Regions from separate parts of the Homo sapiens genome. Here all the other regions are linked to region 1. Evidence: promoter capture Hi-C in 16 types of primary human blood cells and fetal thymus (Javierre and others, 2016). All regions are on one chromosome and are shown on one strand. The core of a region is centred on a gene start or on the middle of the fragment in contact, and the rest is flanking DNA. Distances in the headings are between cores, read along the strand shown. Region 1 holds the start of SGMS1 (sphingomyelin synthase 1). Region 2 holds the start of ASAH2 (N-acylsphingosine amidohydrolase 2). Region 3 has its middle 19 kb from the start of ASAH2. Region 4 overlaps SGMS1 (sphingomyelin synthase 1). Region 5 overlaps SGMS1 (sphingomyelin synthase 1).

Region 1 (2,749 bases), core at 177-2,676:
AGCAGGGGCCGCGGGGTATGCGCTGCAGGGAAGAGCACGGCCTCTGTCCAATGTCCCTGCCGGTACATCACTCCTCTGCAGGGACTAGGTTAGAACCGGGAGGCAGCCAGAGCAGCGCTCTCGCTGGATAACGGAAGAGGACTCCCTCGCCAACTTCCGCCTCTGGGGAAAAGCGGGGACCCTCCGCCACCTGAGTTCTGTTGTCTCGATTTCGCCGCAGTTTGCTTCTGGCCCGGGCGAGAACCTGTCCTCTGGGCAAGCCAGGGGTCGGTACAGGACTCCTATACCCCAAGGCGAGGCGGAGGCAGGTGCCGAGCGGTGGCCAGAGTCCGGCGCCCAAAGCCCGATGGGAGGGCGTGGCGGGGGAGGACGGTCCCGCCAGCTCCCAGGTCGGTTCCGAGCGCCCGCGGCCCGATGGCCGGGCGGAAGATGGCTGCCCGGAGCGCCGCGGACAGTCACGTGGTACGCCGGGCCCGTAGCCGCGCCCCTTCCCCCGCTCGCCAAGTCCCCGACCCCGCGGGAGGCACGGCCTCGGGCTGCCTGTAGGCCACCGAGGTGCGGCGCGGGCCGGCCAGGGACGGCGGGCATCGGGGCGGGAAGGCCAGCTCTCCCCGCTGTCCATCCTAACTTGGGCGCTGGGGCTTCGCTCGGGGAGCAGAGGAAAACCTTCCTTCAGGCGACTTGCACCACGTGGGGCTACTGGGCATGCGCGGGCTCCGACCCCGGCCTAGCCGCTCTCCGGGTTTTCGCCGCAGCTCGGAGGGGCGGCGGAAGGTGGGCCCCAGGCGGGGCGGGGCGGCTCTGACGCAGTCGGAGTTTTCACCTCGCGCGGTTAGAGCTCTTGCGCCTCCGTCGCGCTCCCAGGCGTCGCCAGAGGCTTTTTTTTTCTGTTGTGGGAGAAAGATGAGAGTCTATGGTTAGAGGTTTGAAAATGGGCCGAATAGTCAGGTCGGCCGTTTCCTAGGAATGATCCATTGGGCATTAATCCCAAGTGTCGCAGCCCTTGGGCTTGGTGGGAAAAAGAATCCAGTAGTAGTTCGCAAACTCGTGCCTGGCTTCCAGCAGGCTGAGTTTGCGTTCCCTGCTTTGTGACCAGCTCTAGCGGCTCCCGTCTCCGGCCCTGCCCCAAGGGATTTACCGTCCCAGATTGTAAAATCTGGCTCCCGCTAGGCCTTACTTAGTGGGCCCCTAAAAACGCTGGGGAAAGCGCCCGCCTCCTCAGTTTCCCATTACTTGAAAGTAAAATTCAAGGGGCCCAAACTGCGACTGTCCCTTGGTTCGGGGTCCCGCTCGGTCCCGGGAGGAGCCCCCCGCGGACCCCGCCCGGCCGGCCCGCCCCCCCGGCCGCAGTGAACACCCGGAGGAGCGGAGTCGCGTCGCGCGGGAAGCCGGGCCGGCTCGGGCAGCGGACTGGGCATGCTCGGCAGCCCGGGAGGCTCGCGGTGGCAAGTCGAAAGCGTTCGCACCAGCGGGGCAGCGGCTGCGGGCGGCAGGCGGCGGGCAGGTCGGGAGTGAGAAGGACCGGCCTGGGCTGACTGCTCTCCCCTCGCGCCTAGGGAGCCGGTCGGAGAGCGCGATTGGGGTGCGGAGCCCCGACGCTGCCCTGCCCCGGATTTCATTCCGCGGCGGGGGCTCCGCGAGCGGAATTCCGGCGGCTGCCGTGACTCCAGTGCAAGTGAGTCGTGGGGCAGGGACAGACAGCCGGCCTCACGGTTGCGGGGGCCGATCGGACACCTGTCTCGCGGGCCCGGCCTTATGCCGGGGAGCAGCGGGCGGGCTGCTCTGGGGCGAGGGGGCGTGAGCGCAGCCCGCGCGGTGCCGCGCGCGTACCTGGCGGGCAGTCCTCCAGAGCTGCTGCTCCCGTGGGTGGTCACAGCGGGGAGGTCCGGCGGCCGGGATCCGGGCTCGGAGGGGGCGGGCCGCCGGCGGGGCTCCCCGGCTAAGTTGGGGCGGGGAGGAAGGAGGAGGCGTCAGTGGGCACCTTTTCAGAGCTACTGCGTGCGGGCTGGAAGGCTGCCTGGTGTCGGATTGGGGCGATCGGGAGGCGGGGAGCCTTTGGGCAGTAGCCCGCCCGGGGTCCGGAGACCCCCACCCAGGGGCCGACTCCAATCACGGCTCCACCCCCACAGCCTAGGTGGCGGTGTGACAGTTGGTACCTTCGGTCCAGATCGCAGCCGGCCAGGCGCCCACTATTTCGGGATCCCCCCACCGTAGCCCCTCGATGCCCCCTGACGACAAAACAGGTGGGACCCCCCCTCCCCGAGGAGCGCTCCCCTTCTCTCCAGGCCGCGTAACAGCCCGCCAGGCTCGCGGGCGGCTCTGAGACCCCGCAGGGCTGCCCCCGCGGGGCGGGGACGTTTAGGGGCAAGGCCTGGAGGGGAATCGGCGCAGCCCAGAACTGGACAGTCTCTCCAGGACGCCGCTTTTCCGTGACAGAGGGGGTCTGCGCTATCCCCCAGCGACGTGTCAAGGGCAAAACAGCAGCAGCAGCGGCTGCCTCTCCCACCGTCTTAACCCGAACTCGGGCTTGTGGCGTCCTCCCGTGGGCCGGATAGAGTGCCCTAGTCCAGCTAACGGATTCAGCCTGGAGCGTTCTGGTGAATGCTGCTTTCCTCTTTGGTGCCGCGAAGTAGAAATCGGGATAAGGGTTGTCATGGCCGGAGGGAGCGAAGAGAATCCAGGCAGGTGCTTCTCAGATGTTTCTTTTCACCTTCAAACAGTACAGACTTCAGCGGTACACGCTTACGAA
Region 2 (2,749 bases), core at 89-2,588, 370 kb after region 1:
TCTTAACATTTTCCTGTACTTACAGTCTTTAATATGTAATATATATAAAGTATATGATGTATATAAAGTAAACATATGTAATGTTTACAAATGGGATCGTATTGTTTTATAAACTTAAAATTACTTAATATTTGGCAATTTTTGCATGTCATTAAATTATTTTCAGTGTGATTTTTAATAGTTGCATAGCAGTCTTGCTGTATTAGTTACTACTCACATTTAGTAAATCTAAAATTTTGCATTCTTTTTATGAGCACTCATAAAAATTGATTAGTTTTCTGTTCTGAAATTGGTGGAAATATTGCCCATTGCTATCCACAGCCCACACTGATGTCCAGCATATATTACTAATCTCTTTGCTGTAGAACGACCAGTGTTAAATGAAGTAGGTGTTTTTTTTGTTTTGTTTTGTTTTTTTGTGATTCAGGTTATAAGCTTTGCACAGAACTTGTCATGCTGGAAAAGTTACAGAAAAAGTGAAATGACCTTCAGTCCAGCAGGCCTTCTGCAACTTCTATCTTTGATAACAGTCTGCCCTAAGAGAGAGTTCATGTATAAGCCTTTTGTTATCAATACTCTTTAATCTCATACTTGTACCAAGCCCACAAAGGTATGCTAATGAGAGCTCTAACACTCCTGGACTTGACTGAAAATTTTTCTCAGTAGGTTTCAGAAAGTGCTGAGAGGTGTAAGCCCAGCAACGTGCAAGGGGAAAGGGGACAGGATTCTGGATGGCCATTTGCTTCACTGGGATGCAAAACCTCTTTTGAGTACTAGAATCAGGTAAGGACAGCTATGTTTTCTTGGGGAAGGAGGGAAGGAGGGCTCTTGAATTATCCTATTGTCTCAGAGATCTTGAAGAGACCCTAAAGCTTCAATTTATCTCATAGCTTTGGAACCCTCTTTTGCCAAATTGTTACCTTTTACTCTCTCCTTGAAAAACAGGGACCCCGTTATGTGAAGATGTGGCAAACGGCTTGCTATTGTGCCATGAGAGCCTCATTACTGAGTTTTCAGGATTATTACAGATTAAGTGTGAACCATTATAAAATCTAGAATCCTTTAAGATATAATTATTGGCTTAGCTCTACCAAGGAGTGTTTCATTCTAAAGGCAGGGAAGGCATCTGCTTTAACATTCAAATTCAGATTTTAATCACCAATGAGAAATAAATAGTGCTAACCCAAGTTTTAAGTTCCTTAAAGGTGGTGGTCAAGTTAGCTAAAGTGGTTCAAAAAGAATGTTACTGTGTTGGCAACAATTCTGGCAGCTAAACAGAATGATGAAACACATGAGGTAGATCATTCAAGTCCACGTAATAGGTGGAAACACTAATGTTAAATCAAGTGCCATTGTTGAGTGGCATAAAATATCATCAGCTCACCAACGCAAAACTAGAAACAAAAAAGAAGTATTATTTTGTACCCTCTCTGTTTGATACACAGGCTTCTAACACATGACCACATTTACATACACAATCTGCCTGTCCATGCTCTGGGGTTGGGAGGTCCAGCTGTCAGTCATCTTGGCTAGTAGGAAGGCTTAGAGAACCAAAGCCCTGAGCAAAAACTAGAGATACTGGGTTTGAAGTTTGCTGGTGAAACAGCTGCTAATGAGTAGTAATTATCTGTAGATCCTTAGAGTTCAGAGGCATGTCTTAGATGTGTTTCCTGACTCCTGGAAACTGACAATAGAAGTTGATCATAAGTCACAGATCTGACTTGTTTTGCTCCACATTTGAAGTTGTCCCTGCTGCTGGTGGTTAAGGGCATTATGGTGGTGATAAGTGGATGAGGAAAGCTTCCCAATAACCAGAAAATTTGGGAAGATGTTCCAGTCTCTTTGCCCACTCCCAGTTCAGCCTACCCTCTGAAGTGTCTGCTGTTAGACTGATCTTTCACCTCTAGCCCAGGAATTGCAAAATCAAATGCTTGCACAGACCAGGTAGTAACTTAGATAAATAAGGCCTGCTGGGTAGAGATTGGCAGGTTGAAGAATATATCCCCCATCTAAAGAGAACAACAGCACTGAGTTTTAGGAAACTCTTGGCACACGGGAATGCTGGCTCAGTGTCATCATATTTTACGAATTATTTTAGGAGATAATTTGAAATTTCAGGATTGTAAATGTAAACTCTTTATAAACTCTGAATGCTATTTTTTTATATCTTGTTACCTAAGTCAAATTGAATAAAAAATTGACTGTACTAAATACATCTACATTGTTGCCATTTATTAACTCTTGGGGGTAGCAGCATCTTAGCCACAAATCCCCTATTTTGGGGGCAAATCCTGGGATTCCAATACCATTTCACCTCTCAGGCTTCCTAAAGCACAGGTTAAGAAAATGGGCTCTGAAGGTCCCACCTGTGATTCCAATCATCCTTTAACACTAGCCTCCTGTAAATTCCCTTAAAGGACAGGGAAGAGCACAGACTCTTTGCTACTTTGGAATCTATTAAAAAATGCTACCAGTTTGAGCATTTATTGAACAAAAGAAGTACTGTTGCTTCATCTCATCTTATTTTTATAAGAAATTTATGAGATAGGTTTTATAAGAACTTTGAGATAAGATGATCATAATCATATTCCTATTTATAGATGGTGAAGCTGATGTTCAGTATTGGGGGAGGATTTCCCAAAGTCATCCAGTAAGTGGCAGAAATGAAATTTGACTGCTGGAGTCAGATTTCAAAACTAAATTTTTAACCACCATATTATATTTCTTTCTATTACATTATATGGGGTTT
Region 3 (2,749 bases), core at 90-2,589, 350 kb after region 1:
ACAGCTACCTTTCTGATCTCCACCTGTCAAAGCTATTTCTGATCCTCTTCAAGTCTGGGTTAGGGTTTCCTCTTACATACCCCAGAGGTACTCACAGTTCAATACTGTAATTACTTGGACATCATCTCTATTTTGACATTTGATTGTAATATTTTTAGGGCAGGAACTTCATCTTATGAATTGTATCCTTTTGTTCTAGCACAGTGTCTGGTACTCCATAGATGCTCGGAAAGTATTTGTGAATGAAAGAATGGATTAAATCAGAGGTTGCAACTTGTGGACAACCTATTTTCATTTTGTCCTGCATAGTGTTGATCTGAAGAGCGATAAACATGTTTGGGTTTCTTTTTTAGGAATTGTTGGCCGACATTTGAAAATCAAGAAATTTGAGATAAACACCTGCATTACTGACTTGTCATTAAAAGAAATGGGAGGATCCGTCAACATTGGGCCTGCATTTTCTCATGGCACCAATGAGTAGTGACAGTTCCCTTTAGATGGGGCACATATTTTCTGACTGTGACAGTCTGGCAGGGGTTCCTATTGTCTCATCCACACCCATTGTTATTGATCATCACATCTGTGCTGTTCTCTTTTTTTTATGTTTAATTTTTTTTTATTATACTTTAAGTTTAAGGATACATGCGCCCAACGTGCAGGTTTGTTACATATGTATACATGTGCCACGTTGGTGTGCTGCACCCAATAACTTGTCATTTAACATTAGGTATATCTCCTAATGCTATCCCTCCCCACCAACCCACAACAGGCCCTGGTGTGTGATATTCCCCTTCCTGTGTCCATGTGTTCTCATTGTTCAATTCCCACCTATGAGTAAGAACATGTGGTGTTTGGTTTTTTGTCCTTGCGATAGTTTGCTGAGAATGATGGTTTCCAGCTTCATCCATGTCCCTACAAAGGACATGAACTCATCATTTTTTATGGCTGCATAGTAGTCCATGGTGTATATGTGCCACATTTTCTTAATCCAGTCTATCATTTTTGGACATTTGGGTTGGTTCCAAGTCTCTGCTATTGTGAATAGTGCCACAATAAACATATGTGTGCGTGTCTCTTTATAGCAGCATGATTTATAATCCTGTGGGTACATACCCAGTAATGGGATTGCTGGGTCAAATGGTATTTCTAGTTCTAGATCCCTGAGGAATTGCCACACTGACTTCCACAATGGTTGAACTAGTTTACAGTCCCACCAACAGTGTAAAAGTGTTCCTATTTCTCCACATCCTCTCCAGCACCTGTTGTTTCCTGACTTTTTAATGATCTCCATTCTAACTGGTGTGAGATGGTATCTCATTGTGGTTTTGATTTGCATTTCTCTGATGGTCAGTGATGATGAGCATTTTTTCATGTGTCTTTTGGCTGCATAAATGTCTTCTTTTGAGAAGTGTCTGTTCATATCCTTCGCCCACTTGTTGATGGGTTTTTTTTTTTCTTGTAAATTTGTTTGTGTTCTTTGTAGATTCTGGATATTAGCCCTTTGTCAGATGAGTAGATTGCAAAAATTTTCTCCCACTCTGTAGGTTGCCTGTTCACTCTGATGGTAGTTTCTCTTGCTGTCCACAAGCTCTTTAGTTTAATTAGATCCCATTTGTCAATTTTGGCTTCTGTTGCCATTGCTTTTGGTGTTTTAGACATGAAGTCCTTGCCCATGCCTATGTCCTGACTGGTATTGCCTAGGTTTTCTTCTAGGGTTTTTACGGTTTTAGGTCTAACATTTAAGTCTTTAATCCATCTTGAATTAATTTTTGTATAAGGTGTAAGGAAGGGATACAGTTTCAGCTTTCTCCATATGGCTAGCCCATTTTCCCAGCACCATTTATTAAATAGGGAATCCTTTCCCCATTTCTTGTTTTTGTCAGATTTGTCAAAGATGAGATAGTTGTAGATATGTGGCATTATTTTTGAGGGCTCTGTTCTGTTCCATTGATCTATATCTCTGTTTTGGTACCAGTACCATGCTGTTTTGGTTACTGTAGCCTTGCAGTATACTTTGAAGTCAGGTAGCGTGATGCCTCCAGCTTTGTTCTTTTGGCTTAGGATTGACTTGGCAATGTGGGCTCTTTTTTTGTTCCATATGAACTTTAAAGTAGTTTTTTCCAATTCTGTGAAGAAAGTCATTGGTAGCTTCATGGGGATGGCATTCAATCTATAAATTACCTTGGGCAGTATGGCCATTTTCACAATGTTGATTCTTCCTACCCATGGGCATGGAATGTTCTTCCATTTGTTTGTATCCTCTTTTATTTCATTGAGCAGTGGTTTGTAGTTCTCCTTGAAGAGGTCCTTCACATCCCTTGTAAGTTGGATTCCTAGGTATTTTATTCTCTTTGAAGCAATTGTGAATGGAAGTTCACTCATGATTTGGCTCTCTGTTTGTCTGTTATTGGTGTATAAGAATGCTTGTGATTTTTGCACATTGATTTTGTATCCTGAGACTTTGCTGAAGTTGCCTATCAGCTTAAGGAGATTTTGGGCTGAGATGATGGGGTTTTCTAGGTATACAATCATGTCATCTGCAAACAGGGACAATTTGACTTCCTCTTTTCCTAATTGAATACCCTTTATTTCCTTCTCCTGCCTGATTGCCCTGGCCGGAACTTCCAACACTATGTTGAATAGGAGTGGTGAGAGTGGACATCCCTATCTTGTGCCAGTTTTCAAAGGGAATGCTTCCAGTTTTTGCCCATTCATTATGATATTAGCTGTGGGTTTGTCATAGATAGCT
Region 4 (2,749 bases), core at 133-2,632, 280 kb after region 1:
GGGCAGCGGCTCCTGGACATGATAGAAACCCTGAAAATGGAGCACCATTTGGAAGCACACAAGAACGGCCATGCCAATGGGCACCTCAACATTGGCGTAGACATCCCCACCCCCGACGGCAGCTTCAGCATCAAGATTAAACCCAACGGGATGCCAAATGGGTATAGGAAAGAGATGATAAAGATCCCCATGCCAGAACTGGAGCGCTCTCAGTACCCCATGGAGTGGGGCAAGACTTTTCTGGCCTTTCTTTATGCACTTTCCTGTTTCGTTCTCACCACAGTGATGATCTCGGTCGTCCACGAACGAGTACCTCCTAAGGAGGTGCAGCCTCCACTACCGGACACATTTTTTGACCATTTTAACCGGGTGCAGTGGGCCTTTTCTATTTGTGAAATTAATGGCATGATCCTTGTAGGACTCTGGTTAATTCAGTGGCTGCTCTTAAAATACAAGTAAGTCAAGTAAAAGCTCTAAGATTCAATGATTATGGGATTTGCACTCCAAACATCTACTTATTATTTATAAATGAAATTTATCAACTTGTTGGGATCAAAACATACTATTTTTTTTTCTTTTTTAAACACATACCCTGTTGGACTAACTTACTGTCTGGAAGCTTTAAAAGAAAATGTTGTTTGTTGCCTGTTTTATGCAAGATTCATACAGGATGATGAATAAGATGGTTAGAGATGATGCTCTGTTTTCACTTAATAAGAAAGAAAACTCTCAGACATCTTCAGACAGTACAGGCTATTGAACAACAGATCAACCACCTAGTCTTGGTTGGTGTTACTAACCCATTAAATAAATCGACAGTTGGCCTAAGCACTATAAATTGGCTGCATAGCTTTTCCCACACAGAGTCAGACATCTAGAGCCTTAGCAATATGTATTTAAAGATGTTTCACACAGAATTCAGAACACCTGTTCCAGAGTGGCTTGGGTTGTTGGGAAAACAATACCAAAGGGTATGCCTTTGGGTAGGTGGGAAGTGGATGGACCTGAATGGATTCCCACCTTCTACTACTACTACTTAAAACAATATGTGACTGTTGCATTCAAATTTCTCAGAGTTTTAAGTAGGCAACTCCCACTTAGTTCCAGGTGTATCCAAGGTGGCTTTCATATCTGAAGCTCTAAACTCAACATGGACCCCCTCAGACTGGCTGTTTACTGGGGTTGCCTACATTGTCCCTTCACTGATGTTTGATTTTCTCCTTAGTTAAAGGAACGCCTTATGGTTTCCATGAATGAGGGTTGGAAATTGGTTTGTTAAAGAGCTGAGTTTCTCTCCAGTGGAGTGTGTTTCATGATCCACCATGTGGTTAAATATTAAGGAATTCATCTTACAGCAAGAAAACAAAATGCACACTGAGAGTTCATGCTGAATGTTCTTTGACAGAAATGATAAGGTTTTTCCTAGTATGTTTTATAACAACTCTTTTTTTTAACCTGATAAATTATATATCTACAAATTGAAATAAAAGCAGTTCCTGACACTTTCCCAGGGATGGACGGTCTTAACTGGTATAAAGAAAGCCATTTAACTGATCAGTGTTTATTTACAGATGGTTTGACAGTCCTAGAGTTTAAGCTGAATCTGAAATAGAATTGTTGGTCTGGGCTGCATTTAATTTGGTGGAAGACGTTTTTTTCTGTTCCTTTGGTTTTAAGAGGCTAATAAATAGGAATAGGCTTTAGAAATACAAGATACTTGGAGTTTATTAAATGCATTATTTTTGCTGCCAAACTTTAGTTCTGCTTTTGCCTTTTTGACTTTTAAACTTTTTTCCTAAAATCCCACTGGAACAAAATACCAGTACTGTACAAAGGCAAGGTCAACTCAAATTATGCTTCCTGAGTTTTCCCTGATATTTGTTGTTTTGTTTTTGTAAGTTTGCTCCTTTTCCGGTTTTTCATCAAAATTTTTAAATTCAGGCAAATAATTTACTACCCCACAATATAACTTTGAGTAAGTCTTAACAGTTACGAATCAGAATCTTTCACAGAACTGTGACTTTTAAGTAATTTTATTCTTATAAAGTATCCTCTTAACCATAAAACTAATTTTCTTAAAGTATATTAATAATTACAATTTTCCCAACAGGAAATTTTCCTCAAATCTATTTCTCTTTAAGCTTTATGATTTTGCGTTTTCCTGGTACTTATTGACAATACTGTAGTCATTTATATATTTAAATTGCTCAAAGCAAGAAACCAGTTGATTTGACAAAATTAACTCAGTGCTGGAATGAGGCCTCAGGTGTGTCCAACTTGCTGAGTGGTTTGGGTGGATCCTTACATCTCAGGAGCCTCGTTTTTCTCACAAACGGAATAATGACGTCTCAGTCTAGATGATTTCTGTTGTCATATATATATACAACTACATTTTATTAGATTCTAACATAATTGGATGGGCCAATTATATTGAATTTTATTAGCTTCAGAGCGTTTGTGTCCAGAATGCATCCAACTAAGTCCTCTCTGATTTTCACCTCTGGCGGGATAGGGATGTGGGAAATGAAAGCAGAGTCGTCATGATCTTCCTAAGCATCGTCCACCCTGTCCTTCTACTGGGGTCCATCGCTGGTTTCCTGTCTCTCTCCCTGTGACCTCTCTTCAGTGTATCTGGCCCACCAGACAGGTAGGAGGTAGGAAGAAAGATACAGATGACACATCAAGCAGTGAAGATGGATAAACTACCTTTTCCTGGCTCTCATAGAGAAGGTTAAAATCTTTTGTAGTA
Region 5 (2,749 bases), core at 154-2,653, 260 kb after region 1:
AGCTGGAGGGAACGATTATTTTACATAACATGTATGTAAAGTTTATGGTGTTATTGTTCTCATCACTTCTTTAGTGTTAAGGAGGCACTATTGCCCATTACAAGGTTGTGATTGGAAGTACAATCAAAACTCTACTTTTGGATATCAGGAACATTGTCCTTGTGCTTTAGGTCCTCAGTAGCTCTTCTGGTTAGGGACAAAAGTCCTAATAAGGAAGGTCAAGGATGGAGACTAGCCCTTCTGGTTGGGGTGAGATGGAGGGAAGTACAACCAGAAAGTGAAAAGCAGGATGGGGCTGGAGCATTCTTCAAGATCTTCTTATCCTTTTTAAAAAAATTAATTAGTGTGGAATGGTAATAACAGAAAGTGTACTTTCAGCCATTGTTTTTGGACATTTGATGAACTTTCAGTCTGCCAACTCATGTCTCCTTTAGTTCTGATAATTTTTTTAAATTTTCTCTTTTTAGATTTAAAATATTTCTAAATCTTTGTTTGTTTTTTTCTTGGATTTTCTTGAACTCCTGCTATTCAGATCTTGGGCTTCTAGATTGCTTTTTTATTATTCTCTTCTCTCAATTTTCCATCTTTCATTTTGTTTCACATCTGAAATTTTTTTTCAACTTTTTCTATTGTTCCTATTGAATTGTTCATATTGACTAGGAATTTACAGGAGCTCTCTTTTTAAAATTCTCTCTCCTTTTTGTGGTACCATCTTGTTCTTTTTTGATACCTTATGTCTTTGAAAATGTTAGTAATAGTTTTTCATAGTCTGTTTTCCAAGTTCTTTTAGTTTGTTTGTTTTTTATCTTCATCTCTGGCTTTTATATTTATTAGAGAGTTTCTTCAGATACCTGGTGATTTTTTTTCATATTTTAAAGTAGGCACAAATAAAACTGTTTGGAAACTCTTTGCATGAGGTGAGCTTGTTTATATGGTTTCAGTGTAAGATGATCAGTATCCTTAAGTCTTTTTTCTTAAAATCTTGGGTATTTCTAGAAAAAAATTCATCTGATCATTAACCTGCAAGTTATTCTGGGTGCCTAAGAAGGTAAAAGGCAAGGGCAGATCCTACTTAATCTTTTTGCAACTTTCACTTTGTCCCTTGTTTTTAGTCAGATACCACTGCTTTCAACTGTGTTTAATGTCCACTACTCTAGAAACTCTCCATGTCTCTTTTCCAGAGGATAAACTTCAGTATTCTATGGTGTGGGGAAGAGGCAGTTGCTCAGCTGTACAAAGTGAGAATCTAGAGAAACTTATTAAGTGGTCTTTTAACTCCACTTTCACACCATTTCCAAGGTACTTGATGCCACCAATTCCTCATACTTTTAAGGCTAGAGGAAATATTTAGTGTTATGTAAATCAGAATGCTTCTTTCCCCTTTGCTGGCTTAGGGCTCCTTGTTTTGGGCCTGCCAGATCCGTCACCACTGATTCATGTGCTTCCCAACTTCCGAAATCGTGTCCCTGTTTTCTCCTCTTCTGTTCTCTTCTCTTCTGTTCTCTTCGACTGTTTTGATTTCTTGTCCCTTTTTTTAAAAAAGAAAATCTTTTTACTACCATTTCAGAGGAGTTTTTGGAGACAGTGAGATAGAATGTATATGTCCAGTGAAATACCTTTTTGGAAATCTGATTCATCTTTCAATTAACTGGATTCAGTTTTTTATTTCCCTTTTCACCCCCCAAAAAAGATGTGGGTGCTAGATTGTTGAGATCCTTGGGGCTTGACAAAATTTGTCAGTTGTCTTTATATTTATATACTTTATTTTTTTGCTGATTTCACTTCCTCTTTTGATCTGCTTTTAACATGTTGCTCTCTCTTCTTTCCTCCTGAAGTATCAGTGGGTCACAGGCCAGAGGAGAGAACCTAGGGTTTCTCCGTACCTTCTTTAAACACATCTATCTTTAAGAAAAAAATCATGTCTTGTTTTTACATTGTGGTTTCAATTCTTTATTTCATAGCCTCTTCAAACCTGTTTTATATGATCAAATTCATGGTTTGGTAAACTTCCTGTTTGTCACACCTGGCAAATCTCCCTCATGGTGGATCATTTCCTTGTGTGATTCATAATTTTCAATTATTTGCTCATCCTCAGCAAAGATTACTTTTTCCATGGGAGTCCTATGAACCATTGCTTTTTGAAGCGCCTTTAAGGAGCTATTTATATTTATTTTTCTTTTATATTTACCTTAATTTCTTGGCTTGGAAATTTCACACTACGCAGATAGTATAAATCTGGACTCTGTATCATTGTGTGTCAGTTTCATGGATCCAGTTTTTCTGGTCTTAGAGAGATTCTTGCTTTATTCAAGGTCTAAGTTTCAGTCCTCTGCCCTGGCTGGGATCTTAAGTCCCCAACCCCTAGCAGCTAGAGTCCAAGTCTGATATCCCTGTGGGATATAAGTGTTAACTTGTATCTTTTCTACTCTGAATTTGAGATTTTTCTTCTTTTGACACATGAGAAATTCTTTTTCTTTATTTTGAAACTGATTATGGTATTAAAATGTCAGCAGTTATATTTTATGTAGATTTTTATGTGCTTGATATATAAAGGAGATACGCATCACTGGGTCCATGTTCTGGAACCATAAGTCATCTCCTTTGCATTCTCATTTAATTAGGTATTCAGGAAACATCTATTAAGTGTGTACTATGCATTAGGCTCTAGAGATTCCAAAGCAAATGAAAGGACAAAGGAAGGTATAAGGTAGGAAGAATATTCCAGGCAGAAGGAACAACTTGCAAGGTA

Evidence for each region. Contacts are between HindIII fragments. The CHiCAGO score rates a contact against its expected background, and 5 or more counts as called.
Region 2: a contact is called between a fragment that was not itself captured here and the fragment with the promoter of SGMS1 in region 1, in 6 of 17 cell types (total B cells, naive B cells, M2 macrophages and 3 more). The highest score is 9.5, in total B cells.
Region 3: a contact is called between a fragment that was not itself captured here and the fragment with the promoter of SGMS1 in region 1, in 1 of 17 cell types (total B cells). The highest score is 5.7, in total B cells.
Region 4: a fragment that was not itself captured here is called in contact with the fragment with the promoter of SGMS1 in region 1 in 4 of 17 cell types (monocytes, total B cells, M0 macrophages and 1 more); the score reaches 10.1 in monocytes.
Region 5: a fragment that was not itself captured here is called in contact with the fragment with the promoter of SGMS1 in region 1 in 8 of 17 cell types (total B cells, monocytes, M0 macrophages and 5 more); the score reaches 10.4 in total B cells.

Annotation. Positions count from the first base shown.
Region 1 is chr10:50,622,633-50,625,381 of GRCh38, reverse strand. SGMS1 (sphingomyelin synthase 1) reads left to right here and starts at 1,426. Exons shown (of 11, transcript NM_147156.4): 1 at 1,426-1,675. It overlaps SGMS1-AS1 (SGMS1 antisense RNA 1), which reads right to left and starts at 431. Exons shown (of 4, transcript NR_126411.1): 1 at 191-431. RefSeq lists silencers at 259-888, 1,013-1,170, 1,219-1,478, 1,739-2,078 and enhancers at 1,029-1,557, 2,269-2,668. The HindIII fragment of the contact is 12,791 bases long and covers 1-2,749 here.
Region 2 is chr10:50,249,429-50,252,177 of GRCh38, reverse strand. ASAH2 (N-acylsphingosine amidohydrolase 2) reads left to right here and starts at 662. Exons shown (of 21, transcript NM_019893.4): 1 at 662-783. RefSeq lists a silencer at 415-709. The HindIII fragment of the contact is 928 bases long and covers 875-1,802 here.
Region 3 is chr10:50,268,864-50,271,612 of GRCh38, reverse strand. No RefSeq gene overlaps it. Among named protein-coding and RNA genes, the nearest start is that of ASAH2, 19 kb to the right of the region's middle. The HindIII fragment of the contact is 3,266 bases long and covers 1-2,749 here.
Region 4 is chr10:50,341,198-50,343,946 of GRCh38, reverse strand. It overlaps SGMS1 (sphingomyelin synthase 1), which reads left to right. Exons shown (of 11, transcript NM_147156.4): 7 at 1-455. Among named protein-coding and RNA genes, the nearest start is that of ASAH2, 91 kb to the right of the region's middle. The HindIII fragment of the contact is 1,522 bases long and covers 622-2,143 here.
Region 5 is chr10:50,361,969-50,364,717 of GRCh38, reverse strand. All of the region lies in intron 6 of SGMS1 (sphingomyelin synthase 1), which reads left to right. Among named protein-coding and RNA genes, the nearest start is that of ASAH2, 110 kb to the right of the region's middle. RefSeq lists an enhancer at 1,757-1,826. The HindIII fragment of the contact is 9,892 bases long and covers 1-2,749 here.